Linked DNA regions of Homo sapiens: regions 2 and 3 are each linked to region 1. Evidence: promoter capture Hi-C in 16 types of primary human blood cells and fetal thymus (Javierre and others, 2016). All regions are on one chromosome and are shown on one strand. The core of a region is centred on a gene start or on the middle of the fragment in contact, and the rest is flanking DNA. Distances in the headings are between cores, read along the strand shown. Region 1 holds the start of YAF2 (YY1 associated factor 2). Region 2 holds the start of ABCD2 (ATP binding cassette subfamily D member 2). Region 3 overlaps SLC2A13 (solute carrier family 2 member 13).

Region 1 (4,834 bases), core at 1,401-3,900:
GGTGTAGAACACTTACTTTCAGGAACACAGTGTCCCTTAGATTTCTGGTGAGTTGCCCAGAGCCTCTTCAGTTTCAATCCAAATGACAATGCTTCTCTGAGTCCTCCTCAAGTAATGTTTCCACCACTAAAAATTGGATCTACAAGAGCTTAGATGTACTGGTAAAAAAAAAAAATGTCAGGGGCCCCCATGTGGGCCTCAAGCCTCTTTTAAACTAGGCCCACTTCTCTGTCCTGGGCCAACTCCCCTGTGTACTATATTCCTTCTTCTTCCAGGTGCCAGGTATTCAGCCTGTTTCTTCTCTTCTGAGCTGCCACCACCTACTCTATTTCTCAGGGTTCCTCTAACCCCAAGACTGGCTGTGGAGTAGGACACCAGCTTCCCCCCTTCCTTGCTGTCCCTGCAAATAAACATATAGGCTCTTCTAGTTTCAGTATTTTTCTAATGGCTACAAGAAAATAGAGAGGGAACAACAAAAAGCAATAATATATAGTACCAGAGATCAAGATTATAATTGTTTCCACTTTAATGTTCCTGCCTCCAAAAAACGAATTTTCTAAAAATTGCTTATTGAGCATTTTAAAAAGCACAAAGTACTAACACAGATACACAAATATACTCTAAACCAACTCCAACCTTACACAGCCAAGAAGATACTCTGCTTTTCAAAATACTTAAATCACAAATCACGGGTCCAAAAATAGTAACCACAATCATTTTAGCAAATACTTTTTTTCTTTTTGGAATGTTCTGTTGTAATCCCTTAAATTTAGCATACGTTTGAAAGTTTGCTTTTTGAATATGAAAAATGTACGAAATATTTTATCAATTGTGGGAATATACAAAAAGCATATGATGATTTACAAAAAACAAGCATGTCAAAACCAGCGAGCTTCACTGAGAAATTTTTCAGATAAGTTACTGTCAACCATTCCTGTCTCTAAATTTTAAACTTAATAAAATTCTGTAAAGTGTTTTTTAAAAAATCAAGATCTCATTTTTTAGAAATCTAACGTCTACTGAATATTTGTATATGTCAATATTACATGTGCCTTCTTTTTTAAAGCAACAGTAAGATTAGTATGCTTATTGTTATAGTTTAGTTTCTAATGGACTTTGTAATATCAAAATACATATCTTCTCTAAATATTAAGTAATAAATCACAGGATTATATTTAATTCAAAGGGTACCTTCGTATAAGAATCAAGGAGCTCGATAACTAAGTGCTGACAGATTAAGAATGCCACTGACTGAATTTCCTGGATGATTTTCTTTATTCACTTAATTCAAAGTCATTTTTTAAAAGACAGAGTTATTATACTGCAAGCTTACAATAAATAAAGTCTGAAAATAGGCAGAGATCTTTTCATCTCATTTGTCTAAGAGACTGCCATTTAATCAAACTAAAGATATAAAGGTACTTTCAGTAAAAATCTGTTCCTGTGACTGGGCTCATCTCCAACTACTTATTTATAAAATATTAGAGTACTGGAATAAAAACACTAAATAAAACCTTGATCTGACCCTTCCAGAAGTACATGTAGAAAAATAAGTTTTAATATATTGTGTATTCTGCAATCAGATACTTTTCTTTCTTTAGGAACGAAATTAAATTACATCCTTTGCTCCTAAAGAGATTTTATGGGTTTTCCTTGATCCCCACACACTAACACAACAATGCAGCCAACATTTTTATACCCAGAATGGGGAGAGGGGCATTACACCCAGCGATACGAATTAAATCGCAGTAGCTAATGCCTCCCTTAAATAATTTATTCTCTCTTGGCAGCAAAAAACGTTACAGCCTCTTCAATTACCCCTCACCGCAAACCATCGCCTGGGTTGCGATCAATGTGACCCAGTTCCTATCGCCACAGCCACCTCCGTCTGCCTCCTCCCGCCGGGTCCGCCAGTGTCATGGGAGGGGGCGGCAGCCGCAAGGGCGTCCTCTGGTCGCCACCCCGCCGGCCGGCGGCGCGAGGGGCAGGCCCGGGACTCACCGGGTGGAGGTGCCCTTCCGCACATCGCACATCATGCACTTGAAGGCCTCGGCGCTGTTCCGGAAGGTGCAGACGCTACAGTCCCAGTAACCCTCATCCGAGGACGGCTTCGGCTGCCGCTTCGGCCTGCAGGACACAACCCGGACACGACGCGGCGCGGGGTCACCAGCAGGCCGCGCCCGGTGCCCGGGCCCCGCGGCCGCCCCCGCCCCGCCCCCCGCCCCAATTCTGCGACCCCCGCCCCGCGGGCCCTCGGCGCGCCGCGCTCCGGCTGAGGGGGAAGGGAGTCAGGAAGAGGCAGGGCGCGAGCGCGGCCGCAGTCGCCGCCGCCACAGCCGCTCTGACACCCGGGCGGCCGCTCCGGTCGCCGCCGCCATCGCGGCTCCATTGTGGGGCGGCCGGCGCCGGCCCCCTCAAGCGGCAGCACTCGCACACCAGCGGCGCTGCCCCCGTGCTCGCCCCGGTGCCCGGGCGGCTAGCGAGGCGGCCACCCGAAGCCCTGCACGAGGGCCCTGCCGCCCGCACAGTCCGGGCCCCGGGGCCCGGGCGCTGTTACCTGGTGGGGCTCTTCTTGTCTCCCATGGCTTGGCTATCACCGCACGCCGAGAGTCGCCGCCGCGACCGCTCTGTTTGTCAATAAGGAGGATAATAAGCCGGGCGGAAGCGGGCGGGGGAGGAGGGAGGGAGGGGGCGGGGAAGGCCGCACCGCCGCGCTCGGGAGCCGCCGCCGGATCCCACGCAGCCTCCAGCTGTCGGGGAAACTCCTGCCTGGGCGCACGTGACCCTCGCCGGCCAACCAGCAGCCGCGCCGGAGACTTCAAACGCGGCCAGCGCGGCCCAGCACCCGCGGCGAGTTAGCCGGCGGGCGGTGCGGGGGTGGCCGCGGTGGCCGCGGCTGCCTCGGGCGCCGGCGCCGCCTCTCCGCGCTGTTCCCCCGTTGCCCCCTTGGTACCCCCGGCTGCCGGGGACTGCCTCGCGCTCCAGAGCCCCTCTGAGGAGGAAAACGTCTGTCCCACCGACTGGCAGGGGATGCTCCGTCATCCCGTGCGAAGCCTGGTCCAAGGTAGGGCCGGCCGGCGTTCGGAGGCCTGTCCAGGTCTGGACAGAAGTGCCAGCCCGGGATCTCCAGGTAGAACGACTTTCCTGGCCTCCGCTGTCCTTAGCTACCCAGCCCCCGCCTGCAGTATACCGGGGGGAAGGCGGGAACCAACACGCAGCGCCATTGCTACATGCCTTAAAGCACTGTCTGGTTTATGCACACAGATGCTCTAACAAGTAGGGATTGTCAACCCTAACTTAGAGGAATTGAAATCAAGACTCAAGAGAGATTAGGTGACTTCCTCTAGGCTATATAATTAGAAAATGACAAAGCCAAGAGTCTAACTCTGTTTTAATTCCAAACGCGCCCTTTTGGCCTCTCAGGCCTCTGCAGTAGCTGCTTTTGAAAGAAACCCCTATATACTCATAAGTCCTTTTTAAATATAAGGAGTTTGCATGTCCCCTCAACGCTGTCTGCTAACAAAAGAACACCTTCCCAGGTCTCTACGTCAACATACTAAAGGTCCTCATACTCCAGACTCCAGCAACAGCCATCTAACTGGTCTCCGAAGCTCCACTTCTACCTCCCCAATGTATTCAGTAATCCACAACCAGATTAATAATAAAATGCTGTTAATACTATGCCACCACTCTGATAAAGAACCACTAACGACTTGCCCACACTCCTTAGCCTGGCATTCAAAGGCTTCACACATTTTCCCTACCTCTGCCTCCCTCTCCCATAAGGAAAGCTGCCTCCTGACAAAGAGTGCAGATGAAATTCATTCCCTTACCAGAACCCTTCCTTCATGCACATGGGTTACTTCTGCATAAAGTATATCCCTCTTTAACTGTGCTGTTTCTGTCCATCTTTCTAGGTTTACATCAAGTCCGAATTCATGTAAAATAATTTTATAGCTAAACTACATAGGAAATAATACAGTCAGAAGCCCAGGATTCTCAGCCTGCTTCTCCTGTTTCTTAGCTGATAGACCTTGGAAGTATTGCTTAATTTCTGTAATTCTCAACGTTTTCATATTCTGAATTGCATCTATATGAGATTGTTGTGCGATTAATAATAACATTTTTTGGCCGGTTGCGGTCGCTCACGCATGTAATCCCAGCACTTTGGGAGGCCGAGGCGGGCGGATCACCTGAGGTCAGGAGTTCACAAGACCAGCCTGGCCAACGTGGCGAAACCCCATCTCTATTAAAAAATACAAAAATTAGCCAGCTGTGGTGGCGGGCGCCTGTAATCTCAGCTACTCGGGAGGCTGAGGTAGGAGAATCGCTGGAATCCGAGAGTGAGAGGTTGCTGTGAGCCGAGATCGTGCCACTGCACTCGAGCTTGGGCGACAGAGCGAGACTCCGCCTCTAAGTAAATAAATAAATAACATTTTTTTGAGCACTATGTGCCAGGCACTTTGTAAATCCCTGCGCATAGATGCATATTTTAAAGGACTCAAAGTACTATGCACATGGCCTCATCGACTGCAGATGCTCTTCGATTTAGAAAGGGGATACTTCCCGATAAATCCACCTTAAATAGAAAATATTGTAAATTGAAAATGCATTTGGTACACCGATAAATCCATCGTAAAGTAGAAAAATCGTAAGTCGAGCCATTGTAAATCCGTAGTCTAGCCCTTCTTTTTAAAGACAAGGCAATTAGGGCCCAGGTTAAATGGTTTTTCTTTGATGAGCAGGCCAGGGTTAGAGCTCAGGTATCCTATTGGTCTTTCACCGCATCTTCTTTCTGATTAACCAAATCACTCCATTTACATAGCAGTCTCTA
Region 2 (4,834 bases), core at 1,532-4,031, 2.6 Mb before region 1:
ACAAATGGTCTCGGTGCAATGCAGTATTTCTGTGTTCTCTGCAGCAGGGTAAGCTGCTGCTTTTTTCTTCCCGTGGCCAGATTGCTTTAAACGCTTGCCAATGATGGGATAGAGGGTTTTCAGAGCATATGCCGCAGCCACCAGGCAGGCAGCCCTCTTAGCAGCACTCGATCTGGTCCATTTCACTCGATCAGCTGCTGCATTTAGCATATGTGTCATTTTCCCAGTTACCCAAACCGGCTTCCAAAAGAATTCGTTTTAAAAGATCATGCTTCACAGAAATCCCCAGCAAATGTTTTAGAAAGTCCTACAGCGTCCCATAGTCTGCAGCGTTTCTCTTCCACTGTTGTGTTTTTAATTTTGTTCTGCTGTGACAGATGCAGCAGAGCTCAGACTCCGCTGCATCTACCGGGAATGATTCTCTCAGAAGCTCAAGCTGCACCAAGCTCCTCCCTCCCAGGCCCCTCATTGGCTGTGAGGGCGGTGGGACCTTGGAATCCTCGCAGCTTCCCTTTGAACCTTGAAAATGAGGAGAGAGCAAAGCGAATTACATCCTTCCTTAAACAGGAGTTCAGAGAGTTAAAATGTCTATTTTTGGAGAGGTCGAATCAGGCCATCTGCTGGCGAACAAAACCGGCTCTAGCTACTGAGCATGCTCAGTGTCACTTAGAAACCCACAGAAGTTTCAGAATATACATCACTTCGGTAAGATTTCAGTAGATACCGCAAACAGAAGAGCAAGCAGAAAGGGAGATTTCCAAGCGAACAAAACCGGCCCTAGCTACTGAGCATGCTCAATGTCACTTAGAAACCCGCAGAAGTTTCAGAATATACATCACTTCGGTAAGATTTCAGCAGCTACCGCAAACAGAAGAGCAAGCAGAAAGGGAGATTTGCAAGAGTTTTAATGAGACGAGGAGGGAGAAGGAACCACGAAAATGAGGGAGGAGGGACAAGAGGATCAACATAAAATGAATATGAAAAGGATATGGAATGAATCTGAAACGGATCAGAAAAGAAAGTGACAAGTGGGAGGGACACCGGAGAATGCCAAATATCAAATACACTTGGATCTGTTTTTCACAGATCCCCCCGGCTTTTTTGGGGGTCTGATTTCACAAAAGGTCTCAGAACCTAATAGACAAGTTGTAATCGAGGGTTTCCCTTGTAAATAAATAGGATAAAAGTCTTCCGTGTTACAGAAAATAATTATTTGCTATGCCTCTAGCCATTCTCCCTTTTTCCTCTGCATCCTACTTGTCCTTATGCTAAAAATCTTCCAGCCCCATAACTGGAGATCTGATGTACTCATATTTATTTACAAGGTGACGACTATTAAATAAATGAGAGCAATGTTTCATGTTTACTACTCCCATGTGTTAGGTAGTTTTTACTTGGAGTGGGGTAGCACTTATAGTGAAAGTTTAACCATTTGGGAATTCAGCTGGTGTTGGATGGTGGAAATAGCTTCTCTAGGACCTTACTTCATTTTTCAAGAATGCTTTGTCTTTTGCAGGTTTCTGCTTTGTTTGTTTTGTTTAGCTGTAGAGATAATCTACTGGCTACTTCCTATTTCCATTTGGTTATTTGATAAAAACTAAGAGTCTTAAAATTCTTCACATCCATAATGGAGGATTTAAATTGTTCAACAGTCAAGGACAATTCTGCATATTTTTGAAAATGTAAAAAGCTTTTTTTTTTTTTTTTTTTTTTTTTTTTATGAGACAGAGTCTCTCTCTGTCACCCAGGCTGGAGTGCAGTGGCACGATCTCAGCTCACTGCAGCCTCCGCCTCCCAGGTTGGTGCCTCAGCAGCCCGAGTAGCTGGGATTACGAGGGTGCGCCTACCATACTTGGCTAATTTCTGTAGTTTTAGTAGAGATGGGTTTTGCCATGTTTGCCAGGCTGGTCTCAACCTCCTGGCCTCAAGTGATCCACCTGCCTTAGCCTCCCAAAGTGCTCGGATTATAGACGTGGGCCACCACGCCCAGCCAAGAGCATTTTTTAAGTCAGGGCTGAGTATATTTTTGGATATGGAAAAACCATTTTTTTTGCTCTTCACTGTCCCCGCCCCCCATCTCATTAAAATTCTCGGAAATCTCCCTTTCTGCTTGCTCTTCTGCTTGTGGTATCTACTGAAATCTTACAAAAGTGATATATATTCTGAAACTTCTGGGGATTTCTAAGTGACACTGAGTATGCTCAGTAGCTACAGCCAGTTTTGTTCACCAGCAGCTGGCCCCCAACATACATACACATTTCCAGTCAATTAAAAGCTTAGGAAAATATGCATCAAGCTAGAACAGAAGTTGGCAAATTACAACTGGTGGGCCAAATCTAGCCTGCCACTTAATTTTATATGACCCTTAAGCTAGGAATGATTTTTACATTTTTAAAGTGGTTGAAAATACTTCAAAACAAGAATATTTTGTCCTGTGAAAATTATATAAAATTCTCATTTTTGTGTTTATAAATAAAGTTTTATTGGAAAACAGTCACACCCATTCATTTACTCTCTGTCTATGGCTTCTTTCAAGCCACAGTGGTGGATGCAACAAAGACTAAAATATGTACTATTTGGCCCTTTATAGAAGTTTGCAAACCTCTGTGCTAGAATATAAAACCCATCTCAGCATTAAATGATCTTCATTACTGAGTTTATCACAAAGAACTATCCTCACTTTCATAAGTAACCATATTCTTAAAATTTTAAAACTTCTTTCTTATGTACTCATATTAATTCTGACAATCATCACATATCTCTTCATTTGTTTGCATTCAATTCAGCAGACTGACTGACACATGAGTGTCAAACTCATGCAAGTTTTTTTGATAGCTGGCCATATTAGTAGCATAATCCATCATCCCATTAAGACTTTTTAAGCCTGTATGTACAGATAATAGTGGTCATGGAAGTTATTGCCAAAATCTTTTATTCCTAAGCTCTTGCTTTTGTTGTATGCAAGATAAGGTTGCCTTTCATTTATGTCACATCTCCTAACAGCTACACACAAAAGGGTTAGCAGTGACAGGACAGGTTAAAGGCCAGAGTAAACCTAACTGGGGGTGATGGCAGGATGTTGTTAGGCAGAACATGGTACACAGAAGGATGCAGACAGCAGCTGGCAGTCGAGGCAAGTGGTTTGCAATACATACAACCAGAGACAGCCATATTAGGGGAGGAGCATGGCAGTGAGAACTCTAGAAGCAAAGGACACTAGAGATTCAAATAGGACTTAGCTGGAGGTAGGTCAGTTTACCAACTGATAATGAGGTTATAGTGCAGGAACAAGCTTTCAGCATCTGGAGTGAGAGACTTGTGAGAATGAAGAATTATTTATGAGGAAAATGATCAAGACAGAAATTTTGTTACCTGAATCGTGGTACAAGGAAGGTTGAAAGTGAGTTACTTGAAGTGTGGAAAATGTCAACGTGAAATTTGATTTGATATTGAGCCACTTAGGTGAAGACCTAACTCTAACCACTTAAATTTCACTCCCACCATTCACCTCTCCCTGCTCTCAAGGGTAAGAGTTGGTCCTAGTGTCTGAGACTAGACACAAGCCTTCAGATAAGGCAGAGGAAGGATTCAAGAAGACAGGAAGCCATATGGACAATTAGGTCAATAATATATGGCATTTAAGTAAAAAACTAAGAATGTCAAGGTACTTCTTTCAGTTTTTTCTTTTTCTTTTCTTTCTTTCTTTCTTTTTTTGAGGGGGATGGAGCCTCACTCTGTTGCCCAGGCTGGAGTGCAATGGCACAATCTAGGCTCACTGCCACCTCTGCCTCCCAGGTTCAAGTGATTCTCCTGCCTCAGTCTCTCAAGTAGCTGGGACTGCAGGTGCCCACCACCACGCCCAGCTAATTTTTGTATTTTTAGTAGAGATGAGGTTTTGCTACGTTGGTCAGGCTGGTCTCGAACTCCTGACCTCAGGTGATCCACCCCCGTCGGCCTCCCAAAGTGCTGGGATCACAGGCGTGAGCCACCGCGCCCGGCCTTCTTTCAGTTTTTTTCTATTGACAGTATGCAATTAAAGCTAAGAGACTGTTAATTTAGTTTGAATTCCAAACTAGGAAAGAGGAGAAAAAAATCTTTGTTACTGTAGTAAAAAACATACTTAGGCCTAATTTCCACACAAACGTCTCAACTTCAAGTGTGTTTATATGGGAGATTATTAAAATTTTCTTAAGAGGGGAGAAATCTTCTTAGAAAAGATCTTGAGAAACAATGAGAATAATTTTTAAAATCAATAATTCTCAAATCACTGTGCTCTCAAGTGTGATATTCTCATGTACCCTACCAATATCCATGAAAGAAATGAATTAAATGGAGTTTATATATATAGAATACAAATTAGAGACTATATATGTTTTATGAACTGTAAAACATCAGAAATTTTTTTGTAATAAAGAGAATTATATATATGTATATACATAAATGTATGTATAATGTATATTGTATATGTGTTGCATGTTCAGATTATGAATATCCAGAAAGTAAATAATTTTTAGAAATAGGTAAAGATAAATTGTTTAAGGTTTGAGAATTTCGAATGGATTTCCTTTTCAACAAATGCTTAATAGTATTTCATCTGTGCTGTATTGCTTTCTTGAACTGTTTCCTGACCCAAGAGATTACCTAATTGCTCTACTGGCCCTAAAATAGCACAGCATTGGACTCTCTTATTATCTATCAGTCATGCTAGTCTTACTCATGGAGGCATAAACAGCACTGAAAATGAGATTTTAGGTCAACATTTCAGCTATTACACATAACTACCTAATACCTAGTTCATAAGGAAATGTCTTTTTCTGTGAAGGAAAACCCAGTA
Region 3 (4,834 bases), core at 754-3,253, 2.1 Mb before region 1:
AAATGCAGCCACTATGGAAAATGGGATAGAAGTTCCTCAAAAAATTAGAAATAGAACTACTACATGGTCCAGCAATCTCAATTCTGGGTATATATCCAAAATAATTCAAAGAAGGACCTCAAAGAGATGTATGCACTCCCATCTTCATTGCAGCATTATCCACAACAGCCAAGAGGGAGAGGCAACTCAAAGGTCCATCAACAGACGAATGGATAGATTAAATGCCCTATATATGTGTATATGTATGTATATATGTATATATGTGTATATATGTATATATGTGTATATATATGTATATATGCATATATGTGTATTTATTTTTATATGTGTGTGTATATATAGGTGTGTATATATATACACACACATATACACAATGGAATATTATGCAGCCTTTAAAAAGAGGGAAACTCTATCATATGCTACACCATGATGAACCTCAAGTGAAGTAAGCCAACAAAGGACAAATACTGCATGATTCCACTTACGTGAAGTATCCAAAGCAGTAAAAATCATAGAAACAGAAGGTAGAAAGGTGGGTTGCCAAGGGATAGGGAAGAGAGGCTGGGGAATTTGTGTTTAATAGACACAGTGTTTCAGTTTTGCAAGATGAAAATGTTCTAGAGATGTGTTGTGCAACAATGTGAATATACCTAACAATACTGAACTGTACACCTTAAAATGGGTTAAGAGTATAAATGTTATGTGTTCTTTACCACAATAAAAAAATAAATCTATACTAAAACAAACAAAAGTAATGTCCACATGACATATCATGGTAAAGAACAATTATGCTAGTTTCAGGGAGGAGTGAGTGAGTGAGTGAGTGTCACAGACTGGTTGAGCACAGGCTGGGAAGCCAGACCTCTTGGGTTTGAACTCTGGCCCCACCCAGTAGCTTTGTGATCATGAGAAAGTTACTTCAACTCTTTCTGCCTAAATATCCTTATCTTAAAATAAAGGTAACCGTATTATCCCCCTGGGTTATTATGAAGACTATGTGAATTAGCCATGTGCAAAATGTTTAGAAGTTAAGCATTCAACAAGTCTTAAGTACTACGTCCAGGGTGTTGGCCGCTAAGCTGATGGCCAATCCACACCCTGCCAAGAGGATGGACTGCCTAGACTCCTCCCAGTGCAGCGGCAGGGTGGCGCTAAAATCAGAAGAACACTGGTGCCATTGCTCGCTGGTGACCAGCTGTCACGGTGCTTGGCCCTGCTGTGAAACGATGCTCCTGCCACGTGGCCTTGGACACATGCTGCAGACCGCACCATTTCAAATGGTGGCCTTTAATAAAAGGCCTAACTAGAAAGCATGTAGTACTCTCAACTTGAGTTTAGAAGTACCCGTAAAACTTTTTTCTCTCTTTCTACAACCAGAGAAATTAAATTTTACATGTGGGAAAAGTTTGAGGTTTTTCTGGTGAGTATGAATTTTCCTCCTGACAATGGAAGTTTTGATACTATTAGAAATAGGTGCTATAAGAAGTGTTGCTACTATTTATTACTCTGATGGGTCACAGGAAAAAGAAAGGTAAAGAAATGGAAAAAGGTGTAGACAAGAAAGATGTACAAAGGAGCCAAGTACAATATGAGAAAAAGAAAATTAGACTCAGGTGATTTTGGGTAAAGATGGCAACGACTGCTTGCTATTTCAGTTCTCTTAGCAGTTTCTACATCATTAAAGGTGTTCAAAAAGATGTTAGTGTGAAGTCAGTTAACTTTGAGTGTGTTCTTACTTTAAGTTTATAATCCATAAGAGGGCAAAATGGATGAATGAAAAAGCACAATGTTTTCCAAGGAAGTCACGTGAACAATTTCACATAACTCACGTTAACAGACTTACGTTATCTTACTGACAACTCACTTGAAGAGGGTGTTGCTATACTACTAGGCAAACACAACTAGATCATAATCCTCACTATAACTGCAGTGTCAGTCCCTAGGCTGCCAGACAGAAAAGGGGAGGGAACAAAGCTGTTAATGTGTATAAAACAAGGAAATACAAGAAGTCAAAGGAGGCTTTATGTGTCAGTTTCACACCAGTAGGAAGCATAAATCCAATACAGAATTCCTGCCTTCAAAAACAACCAAAAAGAAAGAAAGTGGGGAGTAGTGGAAAAAAAAAAAATTTGAGCACCTCCCCCCAAAACTGTATTTTAGCTGATTAACTATTTGAAAATTAGGAGCTTCTGCCCAACTATGCTTACCTTAAATGACATTCTTTGTTGACATTGATCTCAACATTGCATTTTTTTGATCAAACAAGATTTTACATTTCATTTGCACTGAGGAAGAATTCAAAGTGCTGTTTGAAAAAAAATGTGGTATTTTTAAAAGTATTACTCAACAGGCCATAATATACTAATTACAAGCTGCAATTTACAGCTACAAATTGTGTTCAAGTAGAGGGAGTCCGGAAAGAGGCTGACACAGGAGAAACTGATGTAAATCTAAGATTAATTCAACGAATCCCGTGCTGTATAAATTAGTATGTCAATTCTCAGGAAAGGTTTTGAATACTGGTGACTATCAAATTTAGAGATTTCTTGATATTCCCTACACAGGCCCTAAATCACCACTTATAATAAGCAGTAGAATAAATGCCAACACCAGGGAGAAAGGGCTAATGGGTATGCTTTTTCACTGACTGTGTACATGCTAATAGTGTTAACAGTACTATGCTCTTGTACTTTGTGTTTTCTAGACAATTTCTTTTGTGTTATGCATGGGAGATACACAATGATAGAAAATAAATAAAGCAAATGAGCAAACTCATATTCTTCAATCCTGTTGTAACTAACCACACTTCAAAACCTTGATTATAGGTACAATACTGCTAAACAAACACCTGAAAATGGGATTGTGTGTAAAGAACATACAAAATAAGATTAACCCTGGGCCGGGCATGGTGGCTCACACCTGTAATCCCAGCACTTTGGAAGGCCGAAGCAGGCAGATCACCTGAGATCAGGAGTTCGAGACCAGCTTGGCCAACATGGTGAAACCCTGTCTCTACCAAAAATACAAAAATTAGCTGGGTGTGGTGGGCAGGCGCCTGTAATCCCAGCTACTCAGGAGGCTGAGGCAGGAGAATCGCTTGAACCTGGGAGGTGGGGGTTGCAGTGAGCCGAGATCTCGCCACCGTGCTCCAGCCTGGGCGACAAGAGTGAAGTTCCATCTCAGACAAAAAAAAAAAAAAAAAAAAAGATTAACCCTGTTAGAATACAATCATTTCTGGGATGGAAAACGTATGTCCTATTTGAAATTCGACTTTTCACGTTTAAAAAGTTCAGATGGTCATGGTAGCAGGCAGCGACAATGGAGAAAGTCTAGTGTCAGGACTCAAGTGGAAGAGAAAAATAAACTAGAGGAACCAAAGATGACTCTGGTGAACCAATAAAAAAAAAAGAAAAGAAAACCCAAAATAATGCCATATTTAAAACAGGCACGCAGTATTTTTTTTACAACCAGTCAAGAAAACAGAACCCTTAAATCAAAACAAATACACATATCCCTGACTTCTGATACTTAAGGTCTTTTACTATACAATTCATTTAATACCCATTAATAACTACACTCTACTCCTTGCTATCTTCGCCTTTGTCAAAGGTTTCTACTGAAGGGTCCACTGACTCCTTCCATATCAGTAATTCACGGTCACATGCTATGCTTTACCCATCCTGTAGTAGCCATCTCAGCAAATGATTGCTAATACCCAAAATTTCAAAGACATGAGAAGACTTAAGAAAGAAGGTAAAAGAGCTTAAAAGTATAATGGGAAAACAAAAACCCTCACATCTCAGATTCAAGAGATGTTAAATCTGATTACATTATTTACTGTTAAAAACCTCTAAAAGCTCTCCAAATAAACCATATTCAGCCTAATCCCCCCAAAACATTCCAGTCTCATGACCACCTCATCACCACCCTCACTCATCTATGCTTCAAATACTAATTTGATTTTTCTGTGCCTTTACACCAGCTATTAACTCCACCTTAAATGCCCAGTAGGGTAACAGAGCAAAAGACTCAAGGTTGTTTGTTTTTTTTTTTTAATCCTGTCTCTGTAATCAGTGACCTTGCCATTTAACTGTTTCCACACCCAACAAAAGGAGACCCATTCCTCAGACTCAGGAAGATTAAATGAGGTAATATGTGTAAAGTACTCCACCAGGTCTCGAACATACTAAAGCACTAAATAAGCACTTTTCTGGCTACATCTACATCATCTGCTGAACACCTACTCACTCTTCAAACCCTACTTTGAATATCCCACTGTAGAACTTTCCTCAATCCTGTGTTCTATTTTTTTCCCTGAAAGAATCAACTGACCACTTACTCTTCTGTGTGTCATCTGGCACTACAGAGAAATGTCTCTTTTAATTGCTTGTTTATGTATCTTTCTACTCCATTATAAAATGAACACCTCCAGGGTGGGATTTTTATCTAATTACTGCCTGCCCCATATCTGACAGGATCCATAATGGAAGCTTAATTAGCAAGTGTTGAATAGATAATGATTTCATTAAACTATTACAACCAAAACCTTTAGATGCCCTTTCAAATATTTTGATAATGCACTATTTTTGTGGTTTGAAAAGAACAATCCTACCTTAAAGTGCTACCCGACCAGCAATGGAATTTGGATTTTTTTTTTTCGTTTTTGCTCACCATTCATTTATTCAACAAGTATCTCCTATGTGGCAGGAATATATCAGTGAACAAAATGAGCAGAAATCCTTGACCCACATGGGCCGTATATTTTACCACAGGTAAACGTGTGGAGGAAAGAAGTTCTTAGAGCAAACTTGTCTGAAAAAGGTATCAAAAGCCA

Evidence for each region. Contacts are between HindIII fragments. The CHiCAGO score rates a contact against its expected background, and 5 or more counts as called.
Region 2: a fragment that was not itself captured here is called in contact with the fragment with the promoter of YAF2 in region 1 in 1 of 17 cell types (activated CD4 T cells); the score reaches 5.0 in activated CD4 T cells.
Region 3: a contact is called between a fragment that was not itself captured here and the fragment with the promoter of YAF2 in region 1, in 1 of 17 cell types (non-activated CD4 T cells). The highest score is 5.6, in non-activated CD4 T cells.

The regions. Positions count from the first base shown.
Region 1 is chr12:42,235,598-42,240,431 of GRCh38, forward strand. YAF2 (YY1 associated factor 2) reads right to left here and starts at 2,651. Exons shown (of 4, transcript NM_005748.6): 1 at 2,558-2,651; 2 at 2,002-2,127. The coding sequence starts at 2,583. LOC124902920 (a long non-coding RNA gene) reads left to right here and starts at 2,848. Exons shown (of 2, transcript XR_007063279.1): 1 at 2,848-3,130; 2 at 3,540-3,681. RefSeq lists silencers at 1,777-2,106, 2,227-2,296, 2,397-2,776, 2,827-3,066, 3,257-3,396 and an enhancer at 1,942-2,443. The HindIII fragment of the contact is 7,822 bases long and covers 1,327-4,834 here.
Region 2 is chr12:39,619,397-39,624,230 of GRCh38, forward strand. ABCD2 (ATP binding cassette subfamily D member 2) reads right to left here and starts at 407. Exons shown (of 10, transcript NM_005164.4): 1 at 1-407. The coding sequence starts at 219. RefSeq lists enhancers at 199-718, 1,948-2,027. The HindIII fragment of the contact is 1,017 bases long and covers 2,274-3,290 here.
Region 3 is chr12:40,097,785-40,102,618 of GRCh38, forward strand. All of the region lies in intron 1 of SLC2A13 (solute carrier family 2 member 13), which reads right to left. Among named protein-coding and RNA genes, the nearest start is that of SLC2A13, 5.9 kb to the right of the region's middle. RefSeq lists a silencer at 1,763-2,057. The HindIII fragment of the contact is 4,970 bases long and covers 1-4,488 here.